Linked DNA regions of Homo sapiens: all the other regions are linked to region 2. Evidence: promoter capture Hi-C in human tissues and cell types (Jung and others, 2019). All regions are on one chromosome and are shown on one strand. Each heading gives the region's core, a stretch centred on a gene start or on the middle of the fragment in contact. The rest is flanking DNA. Distances are from core to core; before and after follow the strand shown. Region 1 overlaps ACVR1 (activin A receptor type 1). Region 2 holds the start of ACVR1C (activin A receptor type 1C). Region 3 has its middle 4.4 kb from the start of CYTIP. Region 4 overlaps LOC105373712 (a long non-coding RNA gene). Region 5 overlaps ACVR1 (activin A receptor type 1).

The links. Contacts are between HindIII fragments. The study calls those that stand out against the background at their distance.
Region 1: a fragment that was not itself captured here is called in contact with the fragment with the promoter of ACVR1C in region 2 in 1 of the 25 tissues and cell types used here (mesenchymal stem cells).
Region 3: a fragment that was not itself captured here is called in contact with the fragment with the promoter of ACVR1C in region 2 in 1 of the 25 tissues and cell types used here (spleen).
Region 4: a contact is called between a fragment that was not itself captured here and the fragment with the promoter of ACVR1C in region 2, in 1 of the 25 tissues and cell types used here (spleen).
Region 5: a fragment that was not itself captured here is called in contact with the fragment with the promoter of ACVR1C in region 2 in 1 of the 25 tissues and cell types used here (spleen).

The regions. Positions count from the first base shown.
Region 1 is chr2:157,788,167-157,790,866 of GRCh38, forward strand. The region is part of intron 3 of ACVR1 (activin A receptor type 1); the gene reads right to left. Among named protein-coding and RNA genes, the nearest start is that of ACVR1, 87 kb to the right of the region's middle. The HindIII fragment of the contact is 5,724 bases long and covers 1-2,700 here.
Region 2 is chr2:157,627,565-157,630,264 of GRCh38, forward strand. It overlaps ACVR1C (activin A receptor type 1C), which reads right to left and starts at 1,300. Exons shown (of 9, transcript NM_145259.3): 1 at 1,008-1,300. The coding sequence starts at 1,080. RefSeq lists a silencer at 1,015-1,244. The HindIII fragment of the contact is 14,203 bases long and covers 1-2,590 here.
Region 3 is chr2:157,447,108-157,449,820 of GRCh38, forward strand. No RefSeq gene overlaps it. Among named protein-coding and RNA genes, the nearest start is that of CYTIP, 4.4 kb to the left of the region's middle. The HindIII fragment of the contact is 3,303 bases long and covers 1-2,713 here.
Region 4 is chr2:157,473,377-157,476,076 of GRCh38, forward strand. All of the region lies in intron 3 of LOC105373712 (a long non-coding RNA gene), which reads right to left. Among named protein-coding and RNA genes, the nearest start is that of CYTIP, 31 kb to the left of the region's middle. The HindIII fragment of the contact is 5,596 bases long and covers 1-2,700 here.
Region 5 is chr2:157,770,577-157,773,276 of GRCh38, forward strand. The region is part of intron 6 of ACVR1 (activin A receptor type 1); the gene reads right to left. Among named protein-coding and RNA genes, the nearest start is that of ACVR1, 100 kb to the right of the region's middle. The HindIII fragment of the contact is 5,036 bases long and covers 1-2,700 here.

The DNA.
Region 1 (2,700 bases), core at 119-2,618, 160 kb after region 2:
CCACAGAAAAGCACAGAGTGAACAAAGTAACTTCCAGACTACAGTAGTCCCCACTTATCCCCCCTTATGCACCGTTTCACTTTCCACTATTTCGGTTACCTACCATCAACCACAGTCCAAAAATATTAAGCAAAAAATTCCAGAAATGAACATTTCCTAAGTTCTAAGTTATATGCTGTTTGAGTAGCATGATGGAATCTCACGTTGTCCAGCTCCATCCTGCCCAGGACATGAATCATCCATTTGTCCAGCGTACCCACACTGTAGATGCTACCATCCTGCTAGTCACTGAGCAGATGTCTTGGTTACCAGATCCACTGCCATGGTATTGCAGGTGCGTTCAAGGAACCCTTCCTTTACTTAATAACTGCCCCAAAGCACAAGAGTGGTGATGCCAGCCTATTGTTATAATTGTTCTATTTTACTTTGCTATTGTTGTTAATCTCTTCCTGTGCCTAATTTATAAATTAAACTTTATCCTAGACATAGGAAAAGATGTAGTATAGATAAGGTTCAATACTATCTGTGGTTTCAGGCATCCACCGGGGGTCTTGGAATGTATTCCCCATGGATAAATAGGGGGTTACTGTATTTACTTTCCATCCTAGATGAAGCCAAAGCGATTTTAAAATAACAGTCAAAAGGGTAAAAACTTGGGGCAGAGTCCAAGCCTCTGATAATGCTACTTCCCTATCCTCCAATTTCCCCATTCATTTCCCAAGGCCCTACCAAGTCCAGAACTCCATGAAAGGTTAATGAAGAAAGGAATCCCATGTCTTCAACCCCAGGAAGATGTGCCTGTGCCTCTGTATCCCAGCCTTTATAACTTGATCTTTGCTTTACATATCTTCTTTCCCCTATCAGTCTAATTAATATAGTCCAAAACAATTCATTAATTCTCAGGTTTAACATATTGAACAAGATTGGCTTATCAGTCACAGAATAAAGATCTTACAGTCACAATGAGACAGTTAAATTTGAGTCATTTTGAGCTTGTCCTTTTTTACCCCTGGGCCCACAGAAAGGCTCCAGGTGCCTACACTCCAGGTAGAAACAGAAAGCATCTCATTTGAGTGCTGTGAAGCTGAACTGGCTTTTCAAACACACAATCCCTCCCCTTCAATCTGTGCCATGGCAAACCATTCCCAGTTTCCACAATAATCTTGGACTTTGGCAGAAGAAAGCCAGCTAAATCTGAGATGTGTCACGAGGCCACTGGCTGGGGAGCAAGAATATCTAAACACAAATCCAGGCGAGAGCAACAAACAAGAGTTTCCGCAGATTCCCTCTGGCTCCTGTAGCTGCAGATCACTGACAGCCTAAAGATAACCCAAGTATCTACAAAGGGTCACTTTTAAATAGTAGCTTTAATGCCACCAGTCATTTCAGAAGCATTTCCTTCCAGAGCCTGCTTCCATCCACACTGGCCACCAAGTCTGTCCAACAATGGCAAGCTTACTGAGGAGATTAAAGTCCAGAAGGAAATGGAAGAAATCCCAAAAGGGAACAGACAGCTCCTGACATGCTGGGATTCTATTCTGTGATTGTACTTGTGCCAATATTTGGACTACTGAGAAATAATAATCTAGCAAAGAGACACCTTGTAGAAATGACTAACAATCACTAGGGATTAAAGAGCAGGTATAAAATGAAACAAAATAGTTTAACTCCAAAACTTTCTAAAGCTGAGGCTGTATAAACCATGGATGGCTACCACTAGGAGACTTTTAGGAAAGCCTTTCTCTCAAAGAGAAAACTTACTTAGTTTACTGAACTGCTGTAAGGAGAACAATATGAAGTCTTCAGGCACATACTGTACATACGTAGCCAGTGTGGCCACCCACTAACCACAGAAGCACCAAATGGAACTGCTCAGAAGCCTGCTGCTTTTTTTTTCTTCCTTTTAAGTAGGGCCAAAGTTCCCAAGATCTTCCTCAGACCATTAAAATCTGCTCAGCACCTCACCTGTCTACTAAGTAAGTCCACATTGTCCTAAATGGCAGTCGGCCAGGGGCTGGTGTACAAGGGACAGGTGCTCAGTGGGCTTTTTTCAGTTGCTGTCAGCTCAGTCAGGAGCTGCACATGCTCAGTAGGCAGGCAAGTTTTGGTTCCGTTTCGAACTCTGGGCAGCCAAGAGACATACACCTTCACAGCTGCCAGGGCAACCAGCTGCCCAGTGCTCCTCCCAAGATGGGAGCAATGAAAACAGTGTAACCTGGCCAGCCAACATGCCAGTGAGCAAGCTGTACCTCTCATTTCACTGCCTGGGTTATTCTGAGCTGGGCTTATTGACACTCCATGGCAACACAGGAACAAAGGGCCAGCTAGAGGGATTTAAATGTCCTGCAAAAGTTGTTAGAAAAGTCAGCAGCTCTGGCTTCTGCTTTCATAATAAAACTAGCAATAGCATTATTATTAGATTATTGTTGTTTTGTCACTGTTAATATCATTTGTGAGCCACCTGTAACAGTTCTACGTTCGCACTAAGGCTTTGTTTTTGTTTTGTTTGCCACCATTTAGTTGCTACAGTTGGGATGCCTTTGAAAATGGAGTATGTGTGCCTGCCTGTCCCTAAACTGCAGGAGGATTAGTTTTTCCCATCCCTTTACTTCTCATCTTGCCACACTCTATGATCCACTTTCACCACACACCACTCTTTCAAAACACAAACTGCACCTACTTAATCTCTCCACAGTTCTC
Region 2 (2,700 bases), core at 50-2,549:
AGGAAAACGACCCACCATGAATATAGCTATTAATGTCAAACAGATTGTCATCTGGGAAAACAAAATGCATCAAAATCAGCTTCGGACAAAACACAGCTCTATGGGAAAACACCAGATTTTTATGTGCAAATGTCTTCAATGTCTGATAGAAATTTTTAAAGAATGAGTTAGCAAAGAATCTGCTCCTCCTCTGCATAATCCAGGACAATGTAATGAAAATAGTTTTCGAGGTAAAGGGCTTTTAGTCACAGCATATTATGATTTTACCAAAGATGCATTTGCCCCACTTTCTAGTAAACATTATAAAGAAACGTCTGGCTTCTAGATTGGGTAGAGGGCTCTATTTAGCCTATCAAGGCACAGACCTGTTATAAACTCTGGGGCGCTTGCCAGAATTTTTTTCCCCAGGAACTCTGAGTAAAGATCGTACCTCGAAAGCAATGTGCGTTGCAAACCACACAGATTTAAGCTCCCACTCTCGCCTCCATAGCTTGGCATCTGCGGCTTTTGGGGTATTCCCCGCCTCCTAAAACTCAGACTAAATCACCACCTCCCACCACCACCATGCCACCATCCTTGAGCAGCTCTCAGGGGCTTAGCACAGAGCGCGTCCGACGCATACCTGCAGCCCTCCAGGTCCCTGCAGGGTGAACCCAGCTCCCAGCCATGCGCGCACCCACAAACGCTCTCCTATTTTCTCCGCTGCAAACTGCCCACAAATTAGTCACCCACCTCACCCCTACTACTTATTCCCCCACGTCCCTGCTGCCTTTTCCCTCTTCCGGGCGGCTTCGTCCCCAACACACCTGTCTACCCCTACGGCTGCCAGACGTCAGGTGCCCACGCTGCACCCTATCCCGCGCCCCCTCAATCCGACTGGCGCTTCCCTGTCCGCCCCGAAGGTCAGTTTGCTCGGAGCACCCCCTGTCCCCCACCCCCGTGCTCACCCGCAGACCTCCTCCCAGCTCCCACCCTCGCGGGCGTCGGGAGAGAAACCAGCACCGTACCTGGCGAGAGCTCGGCGGCCGCTGCGAGCAGCAGGAGAGCCTGGCGGAGCGCTGAGCAGAGCGCCCGGGTCATCGCCACCAGGCGGCCGCGCCGGGGCTGCGAGGCCCCAGAGCAGAGCGAGGCAGCCGGGGCAGCACGGCCCGCTTTGAAGTTCCCGGGCCGCGGGAGGGGAGCGCGGCACCGACACCCTTTTGAAGTGCGCGGTTGGCTCTAGTCAGTGTGGGCGCCCCCCTCCCCGGCCGCCCCCATCCCACGCCCCCTGCGGCTGGCGGTGCGCGGCGCTCCTGCCACTGGCCCCGCAGCCGGGCGGGGAGCGGGTGGTGGGGCGGGCGGCAGAGCCCGCCCCTGCCGCGCCTCCGCCCCCTGCGCCCTCTCGCAGCCGCCCGGGCCTGCTGCTGCAGGGCAGGCAGGCAAAGGCGGCCCTGTGCCCGGCAGTGAGATCGCCCAGAGCTGGGGCGAAGAAAGAGGGGGCGTGGGGAAGCAGTGCGGAGCCTCCGGGACTAGATACTCAGGAATGGGGCTTCTCACGGGAGGAAAAGCCCCACTGAGACTTTAGGGAAACTTCAACTACGCGGCGATTGCGCCCAGGTGATCCGCTCTATAACCTCCCGCAGAAGAGCCAGCCTCCTAGCTCTCCTGACGTTTGTTGTCCAGGGTCCTTAAGTCCAACCAGGTTGCGCTGTGAGAGCCCCGCGGGCTTCCTACTGGCTTGTCCCACCCCTGCGTCCTGGCCATTTGTGCCTCTGGGGAAGGGCGCCCTCTCTGTTCATCCCTGGAAATGACCAGTTGTCCGACTGCCTTCTGGACCTATAAGCTTTGGTTTAACAAACTTCATCTCTTCTTGGGTGCCTTTTGGGAACCCTTCCCTCTATGAATGGCGACCAAAGCTGGACCACCTGCGCCAGGTGATGTGGCCATCTACAATGTGTGACCCACGTCTGGTGGTAAAAGACCTCACCTATGGAAGATAATTTCGGCAGCTACAACTTCAGCAATTGAAGAACTAAGGGAACATACACACACACACACACACACACACACACACACACACACACACACGGATTAAGGGAAGGGGAAGAATTGTTTAAAGTAGTATATGAAAAACTTGTTTGAGTATTGTTTAATCCCTAGAGGCTAACTGTCAAACGGGTGCCTGAAAATATAAGGCCTGGATTGTGCCTGAAAATATAAGGACAACGGCAACATTACCAATTTATAGAAATTAAATTCAATTCACCTATGGAGCCTGAACATTAAAGTGAATGGGATTATTTCAATCTGAACAACGCGAAAAAGCAAGAATACAATACTGGTGTTATTACTACTGTTGGGGGTTCCTTGAAAAGTGATAGCGTCATAAAAATTGCTTTAGAGTAAAACATTTCTTGCTTCTTCACCTAGCTCAGGACTAAATTATATGCTAGGTGTTCTAAGTTCTATGAAAGACCTATGGTGAAATGTTGTATGTAATTGACTTTATTATCAAAGGATCACAGTATGGGAGATGAGATGGTTGTTGGACTTTGAGATGTGGGTGGCATCCTGAGGATCTTTTCTGCCACCATCTTATATTCCTAAGCACAAAAAAACTTTGTTCTTGTTTTATCCTGGATCCAAACAAACAAAAAACTGGAGATGTGGGACAAATCTGAGCCCTTTCAGACACCCACAAAACAGATGCTTTTTTAAAAA
Region 3 (2,713 bases), core at 208-2,707, 180 kb before region 2:
ATTAAAGCCCTGAGCTTCAATGTGTCTGTATTTAGAGATAGGGCCTATAAGGAGGTTAATGAATCATTTAAGGTTAAACGAAGTCATAAGGGTAAGGCTCAGATCTGATAAGATTAGTGCCCTCATAGGAAGAGGTGGCAGAGGACTCTCTCTCCACCATATGAGGACACAGCAAGAAGGCAGCCTCCTGCAAGCCAGGAAGAGATCCCTCACCAGGAACTGAATCTGCCAGCACCTCAATCTTGGACTTCCCAGCATCTAAAACTGTGAGAAAATAAATTTCTATTGTTTAAAGCCACCCAGTCTATGGTATTTGTTATGCTATGGTATTGGTTATGGTGGCTTGAACTGACTAATACACTCTCTAAACTTTAGTGTTCACATATCTAAAACAAAAATTTGCAGGAAAAAATAGACAGAATAGCCCATGAATAGCACATGGTATAAAGTAAGCTATATCTACTGAATTTTGCTTTAAGTAACAAGCCTTCAAAAGGAAAAGCTAAAAAAGGATATAACATGAATTCTATATGAATAGCCCTATTCATTACTAAGTGCCTCTATGTGCAGCAAGGATGCCCTTGTCACCCTGAAGAAGTCTAAAGGCTACACAATACATGTGAATTCCTTACCATCGAATATCAAGATGTGTTTGAAAACCATCATCAGAGCCAATGTGTGAAATTTCTGGATTATTGTAAGACACAGAAGAAGAGTAACTGGTTGCTTAAAAAATGAGACTTCCTCTATGCCTTTCTGATCTTAAGATAGCTGTTGAGTTTTTTGTTTGTTTTATTTTTGCTATTTGCCTTTATTTGCACAAGAAGATTTTATCTGGCTTCCTGGAACATCACAGGATTTTGTTTTGTTGTGGTTTGGTTTGCTAATTTGTTTTATTTTGGCCTTTTGCCTTCATTTGGAAGGGAAGTTTTTATTTGGGTCTCTGGAATGATGTAGGAGATGTGTTAAAGTCATATAGACAATATTTGAATATTGTGCCTTTGAATTTATATAAGGTAAATTTGATTTAGTAAAGTTACTCTCATATATGAGGATCCACTAACTGTGAAAACTGCTCTGTCCTATGTATCACCTTATTTGAGTGATGGAGCTGGGTAGACAGATGTCCTCATCCAACTCAGTGTGGATCACTGGAATTATGAACACTACTCCCCAGAGAGTAATAGCCTTCTTCAGAAAAGGATAAACTAAAAATTTGTAACTAGGACAAGCCCTGAAAAATAGGCAGCTCAGGAAAGGAAAATAACAGAAACAAAGGTCATAAAGACCCTATATTAGAAATCCTAGTGTGATATAAGCCAAATATTGGCTTAGAGTTGTGACATGCATATTTAAAACAACACAAAGAAAAACTTTAAACCTAATATAAATAATAGCTAGCAATACATCAAATCTACTATGTTTTTAATACAAGTGCAAGGAAACAATTTTCTGATTTATTCAAGTTTAATTCAATCAAATCATGAAGCTATGGGTAGATTGCAATATCATTCAAGGGATTAAGCCACTAAATTCAATTGGGGCTTTAAATAGATTATCTAGATCAGTGTTTCATGAAATAACTCAGTAAGATAATTTCAACACTCTTTTAGATATAAAAGTAGACACATTCATTTGGTGCACTTATCACCTAGAAACATCATTAACTGCACTTTTAAATATTCCTTTTGCAACTTTATCTATTTCAGGTTTAGGGGGAGTACTTTGAGCATGTTGGGCATATGGCAGAGATGGCTTCATGTTGAAGGGTCCATGCTGAAGGTACACAGTAGTATTGGGGCCACCTGGAAGCAGTCAGGATGTGCATAGGTTTTAAAAGGCAGCTTCTCCTGTGGACTTATCCATATATCTATACAAAATGCTCTGTGAATGCGGGTTGTTTGAGTCTTAAGAGGTAGTCTATGCAATGATTTTAAAACTGTACTCATGAAAATGTAAGGAGATCCTTTGAATGTCCTGGGAAATAAGGGAAGAAGAAGAAAAAGAGAAAGGTATGAGAGGGGGGATTCTGAGACTTTCAGCCCTGACATCAACCATTGTAGTTGTAATTGCTTTGCTTTATATTGTGTTCCCATTCATACCACATAATTTAATCGGGTTAAAAATAAAACTGAATGAAAATACAGGCTTATAGAAAACAGAAAAGACTCTTCACATAGAGTGTGAAGAACAGTAGACTATTGAATCACTCTGTAAAAAAAAAAAAAAGCGTCAGCCCTCTAATGAGTTCCCCAATTTCTACAGACTATCACCTTTTTGGAGAGATAAAGCCCTAACAGCAAAAATCCCTTTAAAAAGAAACACAAAGTAACCAGGATAACCAATAGTTAAAGGAACCCTAATTCTGGATTTGTTTAAAATTCATTCAAAACAAACTTTTGTTCATTAACCTATTAAGACAAAGGTAGAGAGGGTTTAACTCAACCGGAATGAACAACATTTTTGTACTAAGGGAATTGTTCTATAATATGAAGATGTCTTTCCAAGAAAGATTAAAGCTTTAAGAGAAATATATAATTGGTTGACCACTTATTACCCGGAGTATTTTCCTTCTTTGAGGACTATTGTATTTTTTAAAAAGTAGCTATTTTTATTTTAAAGTTACTTGATTAATAAAATATTTAAGAATATGTCCAATCAAATATAAACGTCAAGATCAAGATATAGAGGCATATAGACCACCTGTCTATAT
Region 4 (2,700 bases), core at 122-2,621, 150 kb before region 2:
GAACAGAGGGGTTTATGGGACATGAAGTCAAGTCCCAGGCTAATATAGCTCCATGCCTCTAAACAAACTTAGTGACTCCAAAGGTATTTGAGCCTACTTGTAGACATTCCAGTTTTAAATTTGCATGTTACAATTCTGGTTGTGACTTTATACTTACAAAGCAGCAGCCAAAGTTATAGCTATACTACCGGTAGGTATGTACCACAGAGAGATGAACTGGCCCAAGGGACAAGATGTTCCTGTAAACAGGCATTTGCATTTGAAAATGTGGCATTTGGGGTACAGTACTTGGTGGCAGCCAAAACTGCCTTCAGAGAGAAAGTATAGATGGAAGAAGAAAGTGAGAGTGGAGGAGTGTGAATACATATGCATCATCTCCTTGGCTCAGCAGAGCACAGCAGCAAAATAATGCATATGCCATGATGATTAATGCCCTGGGACTCAGTCATGCTTTGCAGATCCAACAACCAGCATCTCATACCTTGGGCTGATGGAGAACCCAATGCAATCTTACTAAGACTAAATGCAAAGAAATGTTCTAGAGGAAAGAAATGTTGTAGTGACAATTCAATGGAAAACACAGTTTTAAGTATATTTTATTTCTGTAAAAGTTTATTGGGCATAAGCAATTATGTTTATGTTTTAACAAAAATATACTGCTATTTCCTAAAAAGAAATTCAGGAAAACAACATTTTTTTCCTCTCAGCCTACATAAGTGATCACTTACTGCTGGAATATGAGATTAGGTAGTGGTAGACAGGCTATAGCAAGAGAAGACACGATCAAGGCCCCAGGGTAATTTGAAGAGGGAGGGAGAAACTGAAGAAATGAACATGAGTGTGTGGACCAGGCATCCATTATGCTGAGGACAAGTATGTAAAGGCCTGAGTTCAGGAGGCTTTTTTCAGTATCAAGAAATCCAAGTGAGAACTAAAAAATAGGGACATAAATTCTCCTAACCATAGAGCAGATTCTACAGGCAAGAGATACAAATATCTACCTTCCTGGGAAATAAAGTGTTTGAAGAAAATAATGAGACCTTCAAACTCCTCTAAGGCATTTTAGAAAGTCTAACTGCAATAAAGATAAGAAAGTTGGAAACTTCCACATATTTAGACTATAAAAATCAAAGTAATAGCTAATAGACAAATTACATCTACTTTTGCTGCCCCCCTCCCCCAAAATTAAAATATTGCATAAATTGAAAGGTCATGGACTTAAACAAAATAAAGAGAAAATAGAGACTGATTTTGAAGATTTATTATTTTGAAAACATCTTAACCAAAATATTTTAGAGGTTGAAAATATATGTGGCATCTATAAAAATGTAAATTTGGGCAGAGAACTGGTTTGTTTTAGAAAAACAAAACTCACTTTCATCACAAGACAGAGAAGCTCAGGTCTTTCCTTGCAGCCGTTCTATACACTTCAGTGCTTTGAAGGAGCTGGCCATGAGCACGAATTACTCCAGTATTTCTATTTGCTCTAAACTCCATTCCAACTCTGCCTTCACTTCAGATTTGTAGTCATATCCGTGAGCCTCTCACCATTTCTAATGATCTGCCCTTTTTTATTTGTCTCGGTATTTCCTTTTGTATTTGTTTCTTTTCCTTATTTAAATACATTTTTCCCATGATTATCTCTCTGTTGCAGATAATTTGTAAAGTAGAGAGGATCCCACTACCACCAAAAATCATCATGAACATTTGTCTTAACCTCCCTAGTCCTTTTTTATTATTGATTTTAACCAGATGAGATAATTATGCATAAATAACTATGTATATTCTCTTATTACACTTAAATAGTGTATCTTAAAACACTATCTTGTTACACTTAAACACTAACACTACCCGCTATAATTTTCTTTTATCACTAATAACTAATCACAACATGATTTTAATAGTGATATGACAGTCCATACTATAGCAGAACCATAATTTTCTAGTTTGATAGTAATCTAATTTTATTAAATATTGTTATTTCTGATAGTTCACTGTTAGAAATAATAATGTGATCAAATTTGAACATAAATCTTTGTCCATATAACTATTAGTATAAATCCTTACATTAAAAAATAGTGGTTTAAACCCCATTGAAAAGTAGGCAAAGGATATGAACAGACACTTCTCAAAAGAAGCGATATATGTGGCCAACAAGGATATGAAAAAAAGCTTAATATCACTGATCACTGGAAAAATGCAAATCAAAACCATGATGAGGTACCATCTCGCACCAGTCAGAATGGCTGTTGTTAAAAATTCAAAAAAATAACAGATGCTGGCCAGTTTGCAGAGAAAAGAGAACACTAATACACTGTTGGTGGGAGTGTAAATTAGTTCAACCATTGTGGAAAGCAGTATGGCAATTCCTCAAAGAGCTAAAAGCAGAACCACCATTCCACCCGGCAATCCCATTACTAGGTATATACTCAGATGACTATAAATCATTCTACCATAAAGACATATGTATGCGAATGTTCATTGCAGCACTATTAATGATAGCAAAGACACGGAATCAGGCTAAACGCCCATCAAACGACATCAATGACAGACTAGATAAAGGCAATGTGGTCCATATACACCATGGAATACTGTGCAACCATGAAAAAAGAATAAGATCACGTCTTTCGTGGGAACATGAATGGAGCTAGAGGCTATTATCCTTAGCAAACTAATGCAGGAACAGAAAACCAAAAACTG
Region 5 (2,700 bases), core at 201-2,700, 140 kb after region 2:
ATTAAGAATAATTAATTTAGTGCATGCAACTCTTAATCCCTCCATTGCTTACTGGAGAAACTCAGCTTGGGAATATAAATATCACAACCTTTATTTTTTATTTTTTTTGGCCTATAAAGACATACAAAAATAAGGTGGAAGCTGCCCCTCTCATCTACCATATTGTGATAACAAACTGCCTTCTGTATCTGCATTGTATAATTAGCTGCTAATTACTCAGTTTACATTTAAATTCCTCTGTTGAAAGGTATAAAATGCATATGACTTTTAAAACACATGAAAGTAAAACTTAGGAAATGGTACAGATTATTAAATTTCAATTGTGTTCTGAAAGCCAAAAAAGTGTACATCAGTAAACTGAATTCCTTCCTTGGTTCCTTCCCTTCACACAGGATCAACATAGGCACTGTCCAAATTGGTGAATTTAGATATGCATTTTTTCCACAAAGGAGAACAATTAAGTTTAAAATGTGTGTTCTAAGGATTAAAAAACAAAAACAAACCAAAACACAATGCTGCTAGAAGATCGACATGCAGCCACTGCATCCATAAAGATTTCTTGGCGGAAGATGTATTTCAAAAAGAGGATTTGCAAAGTCTTAAATACATAATCCCAGAAGAGTTCTGACTTCTTCTGATACTGGTCATGGGTATTTGTTTGTCAGACAGCTCCTGTGATGCTACAAGTGGGCTACACTGAAAAGGCTACTTGGAGAATACATTTTGGAAAACGTGGCAACTCTACTTGTGATCTAATCTGTTTGGTGCATGGCCCCCTCTTGCAGCAGCAACACACTTGTCAGCTTGTCAACTACATGCTCCCTCTTCCATTCTTCTCTTTAATTATAGGTAGGGGTGATCAGGGAGGTTGGAGGAGGAGGTAATTACCACAAGACTATGAGGATCAACAAGGGGTATAATCAGCCTAGATAACAAGGCAAGAGATATAACTTGCAGGGCAGTGGGGCTTTCTACCCAGGCAAGTGACTGCTGGAATCACACAGCTTCTAATAAGCAGCTGCAGCACCACCTGCATATACAGGAATACAGTTCTTTGCTGGAACACTAAGTCACTGAAAACCCAAACATGGAGAGAGAAGCAGTTCTGTCCAGGAGACACACCTGAATCATAATCACAACCACTAAATCTAGATTACCTGACAAGAATATCATGTCCCTATTAAATACCAACAACTAACCCAAAAGGATGTTCAATGTGGCTAACAAGTGCTCATTGTGGGCCACTGTTGGGTCACACAAATATAATTTAGTACACGATTCCTTTTAATAAAGCCATAGCAATTTGCCAGCATTTATAGCTCAAGATGAGGCCTAGTGCTAAGATACTACAAATACTGGCTGCCAGAAAATGGTATGCTAATCTTTTCCTGCCTTTGGTTCTGTTTTGTATCTTTATTTTCCCTTTGTCCTCATTTTGTCATTAGGGATGAGAGCAAAATATCCCAGGGAATTATGGATACAAAATTACCTCAAATCCTTTTTTTGGTTGTTGTTTTAAAGAAAACAGAAGATGAATGTCGAGGTAGGTAAATTAAAATAGAAATATTGTTCAATGGTTTTCAAATGCTTTTAAGTTGTTAAATGCTTTTTGCAAATTCATCATTATGCAGAAGCCCCTAAAACAAAAGCAGAGCTGCCCAAAAGCCCTGGCCATGGAGCCCCACAAAAAGGCTCCCTTAAGGCACCTGAAATTTGTAGTTTCACTGATCGTCATCCAGAAATGACTCCCCTAACCCAACTTCCCATGTTTTTGAACCAAAAATAACATACCATCCATGCAGTTCATCACATATATTTTTACTAAAAGCTGTACCACATGAACACACTAACTACAAGCTAATGAAAGGCACTGCTTTTATTAAAGTCTTTAGTCCTAACCCAAGAAAATGCAATAATGATATTTATACTGTTTCAAAAGAATGCTGAGGAATATCTATAGAACCAGAAACTACATACTTTAAAGGTGCATTACTATTTTGCCATTTGGACTCTGGAGCCAATCTCTGAAGACTAATCTTGAGATAGCTTGCATGGAATAGTAGTGGAGAGGGGAGATGAGACAGGGAAATGTACCCCTTCAATGTCTTCCCACCACTATCCAGATAATCTTGTTCATAATCAAATAAGATACTAGTTAGTACAAGAGGACAACTCTGGTTGAAATTAATGAGCACATTTGGGGCTTTTCCATCTTTATTTTCTCCATTCACAATCTGCCGTGGAGGAGAAGCGAGAAGCAGCAAACAGTGACAATAGCCGTAGACCTAGAGAAAGGACAACCAAGCTCCCGCTGGTTACTCCTGTGCCTTGGGGCAGCAGCCACTGCTCTTCCTACCTCTGCCCTTCCCCGTTTCTACTACTCAGACTGGGGGTGTCCCTCTTTCCATGAAAACAAGAAGAAAATCTGGAGAACAGCAGCCAAGTGGTGGGGGCAGCTTATAGGTCACCTCCCAAAAGCAAAAGATGCAACGGCAGGAGCTGCAAAATCCAGCCCTCGGAAACCATGAGCACTAGGAGGAGGGTGTGGAGAGGTTGCCAACCCATTATTGCTACTGCAGCCATCCCTGCAAGCCGTCTAAAAGAGAAACTTAGGAAAATGATTATGGAACTTGCAAATACCTACCACATAAAAGTAAAGCTAACAAAAATCAGGAAATAGGCACTTTGTACCATCTTCCA